3 separate regions of the Homo sapiens genome follow, and all the other regions are linked to region 1. Evidence: promoter capture Hi-C in 16 types of primary human blood cells and fetal thymus (Javierre and others, 2016). All regions are on one chromosome and are shown on one strand. Each heading gives the region's core, a stretch centred on a gene start or on the middle of the fragment in contact. The rest is flanking DNA. Distances are from core to core; before and after follow the strand shown.

Region 1 (3,993 bases), core at 1-2,500:
TGCCTTAGCCTCCAGAGTAGCTTGGACTACAGGCGTGCACCACCACACCGGCCTAAGTTTTGTATTTTATTAGAGATGGGGTTTCACCATGTTGGCCAGGCTGGTCTCGAACTTTTCACTTCAGGTGATCCGCCCGCCTTGGCCTCCCAGAGTGCTGGGATTACCGGCGTGAGCGACCGTGCTCGGCCGCAGGACGACTGTAGATGATATCGTATTGTGTGTTGAAATTTTGCTAAGAGAGTAGATTTTATGTACTCTTACCACACACACACAAAGAGGGTAGTCATTTCACAATGTCTCTATGAAATCATCATGTTGCACACCTTGTATACAACCAAAAATCAATTTTTAGAAATTGGTTTCAATCGTGTATGATATATATGTATATGCACATGTATATGAGATATTATGTATACGTATGTGTGGATATAAGACACATGTTTATGTATAGGTGGTCCCCAACTTAAAATGGCTCAACTTACAATTTTTTGACTTTGTGATGGGTTTATTGTAGCATTAAATACATTTTCAACTTACAATATTTTCATCTTACGATGGGTTTATCAGGACAAAGCCCCATGGTAAGTCCAGGAGCAAATATTTTTGCATACACAGGTATGTGTACATGATACATATTTATATGTATTGATGCTGTATCTATAGATGCATATGTGTGCTATGTATGAGGCAAATCTGCGCATGTCTGTGTACATGGTAAATATTTACGTCCGTCTGTGCGTGTCATAGACATAGAACAGGTGGGATGTAAACAGACGGGCTGGGCCTAGCTGCTCCTTTCCCGCCTCACTCGAGTCTGGCACCAGATTGGCCGCTCCCAGCCCGCTCCGGGTGCCGGCCCCTGCACCCCACCCTGCACCCCGCACCCTGCCCTGCACCCCATCCCGGCCCGTGCCTCGCACTCCACCTTTCCCGCACCCTGCCCCGCACCCAACACCTCCCGCGCCCCTCGCCGCGCTCCCCCAGCACGCACCAGGCCCCGCCCACTCCGCCGCGTGCCCAGCCCGCGTCACCGCCGTCCTCCCCAGGCTCCAGCGCGCCTTGCGGGGCCGCGCACGCTAGCGGAACCGCCGGGAAGAGCGCCGTGCCGTCAATGGCGGAGGCGCGCACGTCTGCAGGGCCGCGCACGTCTGCAGGGCCGCGCACGTCTGCAGGGCCGCGCACGTCTGCAGGGCCGCGCACGTCTGCAGGGCCGCGCACGTCTGCAGGGCCGCGCACGTCTGCAGGGCCGCGCACGCACTGACGGCTGACCGCCATCTTCCCTCCCGAGGCGGCAGTTCCAGGTGCAAGCGCCGGGTTTGCTGCCCGCTGGGCGCCCCTGCAGCGGCCCGAGCTGTGGCCGGCGTGGATGAGGGGCAGGCGAGGCAGGGCCGCCCCTCCAGTATTGCCGCCCCTCCCGCCCCAGGGCAGGGCTGGGAGGGTACAGCCCGGGGGCGGGCTCGGGTCGCCTCCCGGCCGCCGCGTCCTCGCTGCCCCGGGCCGGGCGGGCGGGCGCCGAGAGCCTCCCAGCCCGCCCCGTGCCCCGCCCGCCCGGCTGCTTCCGCGGCGGCGCTGCCCGCACATGGGCTAGGCTGCCAGGATGTTCAGCTTCGAAGGCGACTTCAAGACGCGGCCCAAGGTGTCCCTTGGCGGCGCGAGCAGGAAGGTGAGGGCCGGGCTGGCGGGGCGCCCTCGGCTCGGGGCCTGCGCGGCCGGGGCTCGGGGCTGGGACTCGGGGCTGGACTCGGGGCTGGACTCGGGGCCGAGACTTGGGGCTGGATTCGGGGCCTCCCTGGCGGGGACTCGGGGCTTCCTCGCCGGATCTCGGGGCCGCTCCGGCCGGGACTCGGGGTTGGACTCGGAGCCGAGACTTGGGGCCAGGACTCTGGCTGGGGCTTAGGACTGGACTCGGGGCCTCCCTGGCTGGAACTCGAGGCCGCGCCCGTGGGGGCCTTGCCTGTCCACTGCGCTTCGGGACCCGGGCGCGCTGGCCGTGGCTCCCTTCCATGCAGGAGGCCGGTGAACCCTGGCACGCTTTGTGCCACCCAAGGTGAACTTACCCTTTCTGGGTGTTTCCTTTCAGAAATGCGCTTTCCATGCTCGCTCCCGCATGGCATCAGGGAGTGGCTGCTTTTCGAATGCCACCTGAAGGGCGTTTTCGGTTGTAGAAGGTGAACGGCACGCATTTGCTGATGTCGATAATCTCTAAAGTAGAGGCAGAACGTCTCATGAATAGCCACGTGTTTGAATCCAAGACGAGGGCAATTATTTGCCACCAGCCTCCTGGAAACTGTGGAGAGACTCCGGACTTACATCTGTTGTGATCGACATTAAGTTGTTCGCATGGTAATTGTTTAGGATAAGGGTAGGCAAACCATGACGCCTCTGTTCTAGTCTAGAATTTCTAGCTGTCTGTCCCTGAAGACGGGCATCAGTTGGTTCACTGGAACCGCTAAGTCGTTGAACACTGTGTGGTCTTGTTCCCGCCCCTCCCTTCCCACCCCTTCCCATCATTTCTGAAATGTTCTTTAAAATGCTTCACCTAGTTTTTCTTGTCTATCAGTATATTCTGTATATCACAACCACCAGGTAGGCACATAACGCAGAGTGGGTGCTGGCAGGCCAAGGAGGAACTGCTGTTATTAAGATTGTGCTGTGGGGCTGTGTTTGGTGGTTTCTGAGGTTAGAAGGGAACCTGGGTAAAGAGTTGGGAGAGAAGTGTGCTGATAATTTTTCAGCTTTGAGGTTCGTGTGATGGTGATTGCTTGGAAGTCACTTGTGCTCCAGAACTAAGTACTGTGCAGTTAAGGGTGGTCGTGGTAGCACTTAGGGTCTTCCACGTTAATGAAAATGTTTTATGAGATCAAAGGATTTCTACAGTTAGGAGAGACTTCAGAGAATCTCAGGGCCAAATCGCCTTGCTTACAAGTTCGGAAGGTGAGCTGCAGAACATTTGAAGGAGTGCCCATTCACACAGCAAGCTAGTGGCAGACCATCTGAGACTCCATGCCATTTACACAGCGCCGCGCGGCCTCTGTTGCAGGCAGGAACACCCCACGGGCCACGGATGTTGGTCCCTTTTCACCAAGGAGTGCATCTCTGCTCTGAGGGAGTGAGATTTCTTAACTGTTGATCAGAATCTCAAGGGAAGATAGCACGAGCTGTGTAAAAGAATCACCCCTTTAAAAACAAAACTCTTTTTATTGAGGTATAACTTAAGATACAGTCAGGTTCACAAACACTAAAGAGATCCTTGTGCAAGTGAAATTGAGGAGGAAGGGCGAGAGGGAAGCTGGGTAGGGAAGGAAAAGGCGTCTCAGCTGGAGGCTAGCGTTAACCCCATCTCACCAGGAGCATGCTACAATTGGCCCTAATTGCGGCAGAGGGGTTGGTGGCTGCAGGCTGCTGCCCCTCCGGGATGAGGGTGGGAGTGTGGCACTGCTAACCCTGAGCCGAGGGCCATTCTTCTGGGAGAGAGTGGCAGTAAAGAGCCCTTAGTAGGAACTGGCAGCAGCTGGGGCATGGGTGCCCTGGCCTGGTTAAGGAATCTGGGTGGGGAGCCAGCTGTATGTACAGCTTGAAGGATTTTTGCATATGGACACTCTCCTGTAGATGGAACACCACTCACATCAAAGGAAGACCATCCCCAGCATTCCAGAGGCTCCCCTGCACTCTCACCCATTCATTACAGTCATATGTGACTTAAAGAGGGGGACGCTGTCACTAGTCCAGTTGGTTGTTGTGGGACCGTCCTAGAGTGCACTTAACAGAAACCTATAGCCAGTGTTGCCCACTGCACACCTAGCTGCTTGGTACAGCCCGTTGCCCCTATGCTACACACCTGGACAGCGTGTTTCTGTGCTGAATACTGTAGGCAGCTCTTCATGCAATGGTGAGTGTCTGTGCATCCAAACGTAGATACAGTAAAAATACAAATTATAATCTTATGGGACCACGGTGTATATGTGGTCTGTTGTCGACAGACTGAGAGGTCAT
Region 2 (3,993 bases), core at 1,494-3,993, 2.2 Mb before region 1:
GTTTGATCCATATCATACCTCGTCTTTGGGGGAGTATGTTCCCCCTCTTTGCTTTCCAACTTTTATGTTCTGGTTTTGGAGCCCAGATTGAGGTAATTTTATACAAATGCAGGTGTTTCTTTTAAGATTACTGTAGATTATTTTTCTTGTTTAGATACATTTACAGTAGCTCTTTTTACTACCTTATTAGCTAGCTGATTTCCTTTGCTTTCTGGAGTGTTTGATTTAGAATGGCCTGGAATTTTAATTATGGCCAGTGACTTTGGTAATAATATGGCTCCCAACAATTGTGAAATGAGGTGTCCATTTTTTATGGATTGACCAGAAGAGGTGAAAAATCCTCTGTTTCCATAGCATTCCAAAATCATGAGCTACTCTGAAAGCATATTTACTGAATATTAGTAATGAATATTATCAACAATTATTCCTTTCGCCAACTGACAAACCCTGATCAATGCAATTCTGCTTGTTGATGTGAGGTGGCTTCTGGAAGGTAAGCCTTTCTATTTCTTCAGTTGAAGATACTGTTGTGTAACCTGCTCGGTAAGTCCCTGATCCATCCTTTAAATAAGAGCTGCCTGTAACTCAAACAACATCAGCATTAATCAGTGGAGTCTCTTGCAAGTCAGTCCTAGGAAAGAGGAGCCAATCAACTGGGGCTATGTGATTATGCAGTGTTTCATCTGAAAATGAAGGCAGAAGAGTGTCAGGATTTAGGTTACACCTGGAGATGGTGATAGGAGAAGCTGAAAGAAGTAAAACTCATGTGAAGCTCGTCTACTAATTGAATAATGTCCAGTGTGGTGTGAGTTTAGTGATGCTTCCACAGAATGAGGGATAAAAACAGTAAGGGGAGTTCCCACCACAGTTCCTTGGGTCATCTTAATGAACAAGGTGGTTGCTGTTATATCTCTCATGCAAAGAGGCAATCCTTTGGCTACCGGGCCTAACTGTTGGCTGTAATGCCCTACAGGTCTATTTCAGCCTTCATGTTTCTGAGTCAGATTATCTAAAGCATTTCCATCATTTTCATGTACAAACAATGAAAATGTGAGGTTATAATTTACATGCCCCAAAGAAGAGGCATTGGCAAGACCATTCTTAGTCATTTCTAATGTTAGTTGACTTTCTTTTATCCAGTCTAGAGGGTTTAAAGTTCTCTATTAAGAGGGCATATAAGGAAGGTGGGCGCAGTGGCTCATGCCTGTAATCCCAGGACTTTGGGAGGCCAAGATGGGTGGATCAATGAAGGTCGGGAGTTCAAGACTAGCCTGGCCAACATGGTGAAACCCCGTCTCAAGTAAAAATACAAAAATTAGCCAAGTGAGACTCTGTCTTAAAAACAAAAAGGAGGGCATATAAGGATTGGGCTTTTAAATAAAAATTTGGAATCCAATTTCTACAATATCCTGCCAGTCCTAAAATCCCACTCAACCATCTCTTCATTCTTGGTTGTAAAAAGCTGAGATCCTTTCTAGTCTGTCTGAATTAATAAAACATCCTTCCTTGGATATTAGGTGGCCTAAGTATATCACTTGTCTTCGACAAAATTGAAGTTTCTCTTTAGAGACTTTGTTTTCTTAGGGCTGCCTTTTGTAATAAATGTAGCCCATCATTCACAGAACATCTTGTTTGCTCTCCAAGATGGAAGTCATTTATTTACTGGATTAATGTATGCATTTCCAGGAAATTAACATCTGAGAGGCCTATTTTTAATATTTTTGAAAAGTAAGTCAGGCTTTCAGCATATCCTTGGAGGCCTGTGTGACCCAGTGTATTGTCTGTTTTCCCAAGTGAAGGCAAAGAGAAATTGGCTATTTTTGTCTACAAGAATGCTAAAGAATGTACTACATAAGTCTATGACTGTAAGGAATTCCACATTAGAAGGAATGGCTGTGAGTAACATAGGCTTGTGCAGTATAGGGTGCCATGGGATTGCCATGTTGTTTATTGCTCTCAAGTCTTGTACAAACCTCCATTCTCTAACATTTGGTTTTCTTACCAGGAGGATTGGGGTATTACAATGGCTTGTACAAGGAATGAACAGTCATCTTTCTATATAATCTGACATTATAAGCTTTATCCCTCCTAGAGCTTTAGTTCTCAAGGGGTATTGTCTTGTATTTTGAAGATGTTTCCATGGGTATATTTAAATATTTATTGGAGTAGCTGAGATGATAGTTTCTATATCAATGGAGGACACTGACCACAATGGATCAAGTACTGTCTTTAGTACATTTTGTAATTCTTCATTAAGCAATAATTCATTGTCTTTCATGGCAATATGGATTGCAATTGGATTAGATTTTGAAAATTTTATTAAAATATCTGTTGTGTCTCAAAGTTGAGTTTTATAATCTAATTTTAAATATATTTCCTTCCTTTGAGAGAAAGAAATGTGGGTATCACATAATTCTAAGCAGTTTCTTCCTGTTGAATGGATGGGGTCTGATGGAACAAAGAGGAGGGCATGAGTTCCTTGTAACGAACACTGTTGAAAGGTTACAGGCTGAGATTGGTATGCCAATACAGGAGGATTGTGATGCCCACCATTTGAATTCTTTGTTTACTGCAAGGAATGGGACCTTGTACCAAGATGGGATTAATTCCAGATAATGTGGCTCCAGTGTCAATAAGTGCTTGTGTTAGTTCTCCATTTATAATAATTTTTATTTCTCCCAGTGTTAGTAAGGAGGAAATGAAAGGCCCCTTTAAGTTCCTTGGAGCACCCCTGTTTTCTTTTCTGCCTCCACTGGTTAACATTCTTTCCTTTTTCATTTTTGGCAACTCTTTTGAAAGTAATCATGCTTTTTGCAAAAATTGCAAAGTGGAAGGTTAGGTCCATTAGGGAGTTTCTAGGGGTATTGTGAAGGCCAAAATTGTGTGAATAGTTGTTTTAATTGTAAATTCATAATTGTATTAGCCTCGCTCTTTTGTTTGGCTTCCCTCTCTCTTTCTTCTTCAGTTAAGGTATCAGATAACCGGTCAATGAGACTGACCAAATCATGAGTATCAGAAGTGGCCCAACTTTGTCTTTTCATTGTTAGTTCCAATTCATCTAACTCATTTGTTAAACTGGAGTCGAGTATCATTTCGATGATTAGCACAGCTTTCTTCGGATAAAACTAAATATTCTTTAAAATTTTTTCCACAGCCCTCAAAGTATATTACTGACTCATCTGAATTTTGTTGATATTGTATTTTGTTCCAGTTGACTACTCTGAAAAACTGAGGAGATAGCCTGATGCAAAGCCTTTGCTGTTCTTCAAGCCTGTCTATGGTCCTCTTCTGAACATTTATGAAGATCCCTAACAGATTTCTCCAGTGAGCTTTGTCTAGCCAGCCTTTAGCTTTAATTTTTGCTACTAACATGTGAATCTGTTGCTAGAAGTCAGAATAACTAGGGTCATAAGCTTGGATATTTAATTCAAATTTCCTAGCAAAACCAATAGGAACCTGGTGAAGATCAAGGAATTCTTTTAACTATGCCTGTAAGTTTGATCATGATTGATAAAGCAGGTTCCCCTCTACCAGATGCTGGATGAAATGGAGCCAAACCAGTGGGAGCAGGAGGAGGGGCAGGAGGAGGAGGAGGAGAAGGTCAATCAGGGCTGGGTAGTTCTGACAAGGAGGCTTAGAGAGACAGGGGAGCAGGGAGAGAAGAAGACATTTCAGTGTTTTTTAAAATTCAGTAATGGTTTTAGAGTGCTTTTTATTTTCTTCCTCTAAGGGAAGAATTCTGTCAAAACCTCTTTTGGATGCTTCTGGGTGCCATTGGAAGTAACTCTCTTAATTATTTTATTTGATTCCATAGCTGGCTTTTTAAAATTGTGCATATAAATAAACTAATCTAGCTATTTCAAAGATAATTCTCTTTGATCATTGTAATTTAGGATCTTCTTAGGTCAAATAAGACCATTTCTCCAACTATCGACAGGAGGTGGCGCCATAAGTCTTGTACATAAACCCCGCTGGAGTTTCCAAAGGTGCATT
Region 3 (3,993 bases), core at 1,070-3,569, 2.1 Mb before region 1:
GGCAGATCACTGGAGGTCAGGAGTTCAACACCAGCCTGGCCAACATGGTGAAAGCCAGTCTCTACTAAAAACAAAAATTAGCTGGGCATGGTGGCGTGCACCTGTAATCCTACCTTCTTGGGAAGCTGAGGCAGGAGAATCACTTGAACCCGGGAAGCAGAGGTTGCAGAGAGCAGAGATCACACCACTGCACTCCAGCTTAGGTGGCAGAGTGAGACTCTAAATAAATAAATAAATCTGCTATTTAAAACCCCATCACCTAGTCAGTATTTGTAAAATATCACACGTGAACTGTGCAAGGCGGTCCACACAAGTGGATCTTACGGCAACAGCATCAGGAAGGCCTGGAGGCAGTGTCACACTCACTCACTGAGTCTCCAATACTACTGCTTGGCCAGTAATGAAAAATAAAAATGTTTACATTAGGTTAATTTCATGTGGATAAAGGATGCTCTGAGGCAGTCTAAAAAACTAGCATCCTGACATCATGAAGAGTAACCCATCTAGCAGAGGACGTAAAGATGGCAAGTCAATATTTAAAGGCAAGCGGTAAACTCAGAAATTATCTTCCCCAAAATGGCCATATGCAAAGTTATAGGAACAAAATATCATGTTGACAGTGCTGTATCTTATTCACAGTTAAATAAAATTCTTATCACTGGTTTTGTGACACTTTAAGGATGACCCATTTTAGGGTGATAGCTATCAGTTTATTAAACAGAAGCTATGCATTTGTTTAATTTGAAGCATATACCACTTCCAAATATGACACTGAGCATTAATATTTTTAGACTTCCCCCAGGTAAATTAAAAGCATGATCATTTTGTTGATAATCAGCCTTTGGAGAATTAAACAGCCTGCTTACTGCCAGTGCTAGTTCAGTAAATATGTTTCTCATTTTCTATTTGGCAAAATTAGATAACCTAAGCCTAGGAAAAATAAAAAATTAGAAAAAAAAAAGTAGATTTGGGGATATTTAACTCAAATTGCCCTTACTGGTGGAAACTCGAGGCAGTTACTTAGATTATTTCCAAATGGCTTTTTTTAAATGTATTTCTATATTGTATACAACAGTCTCAGTCTTCATCTCTCCTGTTCAGCTATCCATACATCCCTTAAAATTAGATATTTTTAATGTTTAGTAAACCTTCAGTTTGGGTTTATAGACAACATTTAACCTTCTCATGAAAGGGTCAGAATACTCCAGTTGCAGGCACAAACAGGCCATAGTTTAGTTGAAGGAGAAACTGCGAACTCAAAGGAGCACTGCTTCTCTGCAGGAAAGATCCCGTCAGTGGACCTGCGGGGCACAGCTGCCACCAGTGTCATGTAGCTATTCAGTGTCGGAAAACTAGAAATCACAAGTGAAGAGAAATTGTAAATTACCTCAAATTCTATGCCCAGAAGCAACCACTATGGAAATCCTTCTAGACATTGTCCCGTATAAATATATTTCCCTAAAAAAAATTATACCCCATACTCTGCCACTTCAAAAAAATCAAGACTGTTTTTCCATGTCAATAAATATCTATATCATTTAATGAATACATAATACTCCCTTGTTTGAATGTACAATATTCTGTATTGTTGCACATTTGTTGTTTCCAATTTAACAATTACAGTACTCCAATGAAGCAATCATCTTAAAATACATGTATAACGTATTATAATGTTCCATCCTTTAAGGTTAGAAACGACGTCCCATACCTGTCTCCCGTCACTCTGAGAACAGTGCGGTAACAGGATCAGCGATTCTCAACCATGGGCAATTTAGCCCCCTATGGCACATTTGACAACGTCTGGAGACATTTTTGGTTGTCACAACTAGGGGGTAGGGGATGCTACTGGCATCTAGTGGTGGAGGATAGGAAGCTGCTAAACATCACGCAACGCATGGGACCGTCCTCCATGACAAAGGACCCGTGCAAAATGTCAATAGTGCCACTGTTGAGAAACCCGGATTAAGATCATGTTGTAACTACATTTCAGTGGGATAAGACTTTGAAAGTTTCCACCGGGCACAGTGGCTCATGCCTGTAATCCCAACACTTTGGGTGCCCGAGGCAGGTGGATCACTTAGGTCAGGAGTTCGAGACCAGCCTGGCTAACATGGTGAAACCTCATCTCTTACTAAAAATACAAAAACTAGTTGAGCATGGTGGTGCGCACCTGTAATCCCAGCTACTCGGGAGGCTGAGGCACGAGAATGGCTTGAACCGGTGAGGTGGAGGTTGCATTGAGTCAAGATTGCACCACTGCACTCCATCCTGGGTGACAGATCTAGACTCTGTCTCAAAAAAAAACGAAAAAGAAAGTTTCTTGCACATAACGCCTTGGTGGCTTCCTTCGGACAGCTTTCTTCCAAATGGGACTTGGCTTCTGTCATGTGGCTTTGTTAGCTGTACAGATGGGGACAAAGCATGTAGAGTATCCTGCTGCAGTTTCTATGGCTGAGCTAGCAAGAGTGGCACACATACCTCCAGCCATTTCCACTGGCCAGAACCTGGTCTCCTGACACCTCCGTAAGCTGTAAAGGAGACTGCTGGGTGATGTGGTCTTCTTACACGTCCAAGAAAAGAAAATGGCATTGATGGTATCTTGCCAATTTTTGCCATTTTTGGTTTTCAAAAAAATTCTTATATGAATTAAGATTAGTGTAATATAAAACAAAATTCTCAAAGATAATTTCAAAAAAAATACCCGTTAGCTACTCAATAGATATTTGTTGAATTTGAGGTTACTGGCTTTATACATAGAGGATTAAGCGTATTCTTTTTCCCGCCTGGCCAAATGGTAAAACCCCATCTCTACTGAAAATACAAAAAAATTAGCCAGGCATGGTGGTGCACGCCTGGAATCCCAGCTACCCAGGAGACTGAGCCACAAGGATCGCTTGAACCTGGGAGGCAGAGGTTGCAGTGAGCTGAGATCATGCCAGTCTGGGCCACAAAGTGAGAGTCTATCTCAAAAACAAACAACAAAGAAACAGCATTATTTTTAAAAAGCAAACACAAGGTAGTTCTCTGAGGCATGTGAGGGATGTGTTAGATGCCTTCCATTTGTCCCACTCCCCATGTCAGATCTGTACTCCATCCTGCTCCACCTTTTTCTCCGCCCCTGGGTGCTGACCTGAGCAGATTATATAAGTAGAATCCCTTGCACATTGGCTTCTAGTTGAATTTGGTCAATGGGGAGTCCCAGCAGAAAGCTGGGCAGTGAGGGGAGGGAGGAGAGAGGTATGACGGTGTTTATTTCCCAGGTTCCTCATCAGGTTGCCTTGAGCTGGCAGAGGAGCCCATTCTATACAACTCTCTCCTTCCAGGTCCTGGGAATCTTTCCTTCCTCTCATCCCTTGGACCTAGGGTGGTGAGGGCTCACCTGCTTCTCCCCACAGGTCCCTTCACTCTCCATGCATCCTGCCTACACCTTTGTAAGTAGTTCCTTGATAAACCTTCTTAGATGATTGTAATTTGAGTGTGCTGCCCCCAGTGGTGACCCTGTTGTGATGGACAGGAAACTCTTACAGGGACAATGAGAAATTCTTAAAATATTGTGTCTGCTCTCAAAAAACTAACAAATACTTGGATGCACGAGCCTAACACTAGTGGGATTCTGTAGAAATGCAGCAGAGATTTAGAAAAGAGGTTCCCATGTGCCAGAATAGCTGGGGGAAACCTCTTGGATGGAGCGGGCTGAGGGGAATAGTTCTTGAAGGGAGAGGAGAAACCACTGAAAAGAGGCCAGAATACTGATATTGCCAAATAAAAGGGTGCACATTTTGGATATTAAATAACTGATGATTTAAGATAGAAATGGGGAGTAATAAGAAATAATAGACTGTGTCTAGCGTATGAAGATCTTGAGACCTCATCAGAGGAAGTTGTTGCATTTGAGACTTAGCATAATTCTGTGGCTGTGAAAACAGAAAAGAAAATTGCTTACCAGCTATTTAAAGTTAAGTACTTTGTGACAAGCTGGCTGTGGGATTGACT

Evidence for each region. Contacts are between HindIII fragments. The CHiCAGO score rates a contact against its expected background, and 5 or more counts as called.
Region 2: a contact is called between a fragment that was not itself captured here and the fragment with the promoter of UBE3C in region 1, in 6 of 17 cell types (total CD8 T cells, monocytes, total CD4 T cells and 3 more). The highest score is 11.2, in total CD8 T cells.
Region 3: a contact is called between a fragment that was not itself captured here and the fragment with the promoter of UBE3C in region 1, in 7 of 17 cell types (total B cells, total CD8 T cells, total CD4 T cells and 4 more). The highest score is 11.5, in total B cells.

The regions. Positions count from the first base shown.
Region 1 is chr7:157,137,676-157,141,668 of GRCh38, forward strand. It overlaps UBE3C (ubiquitin protein ligase E3C), which reads left to right and starts at 1,251. Exons shown (of 23, transcript NM_014671.3): 1 at 1,251-1,663. The coding sequence starts at 1,598. RefSeq lists silencers at 743-1,092, 1,373-1,762, 1,813-1,882. The HindIII fragment of the contact is 7,086 bases long and covers 1-3,993 here.
Region 2 is chr7:154,923,781-154,927,773 of GRCh38, forward strand. No RefSeq gene overlaps it. Among named protein-coding and RNA genes, the nearest start is that of PAXIP1-AS2, 2.7 kb to the right of the region's middle. The HindIII fragment of the contact is 1,336 bases long and covers 2,076-3,411 here.
Region 3 is chr7:155,006,279-155,010,271 of GRCh38, forward strand. No RefSeq gene overlaps it. Among named protein-coding and RNA genes, the nearest start is that of PAXIP1-DT, 4.8 kb to the left of the region's middle. The HindIII fragment of the contact is 4,873 bases long and covers 1-3,993 here.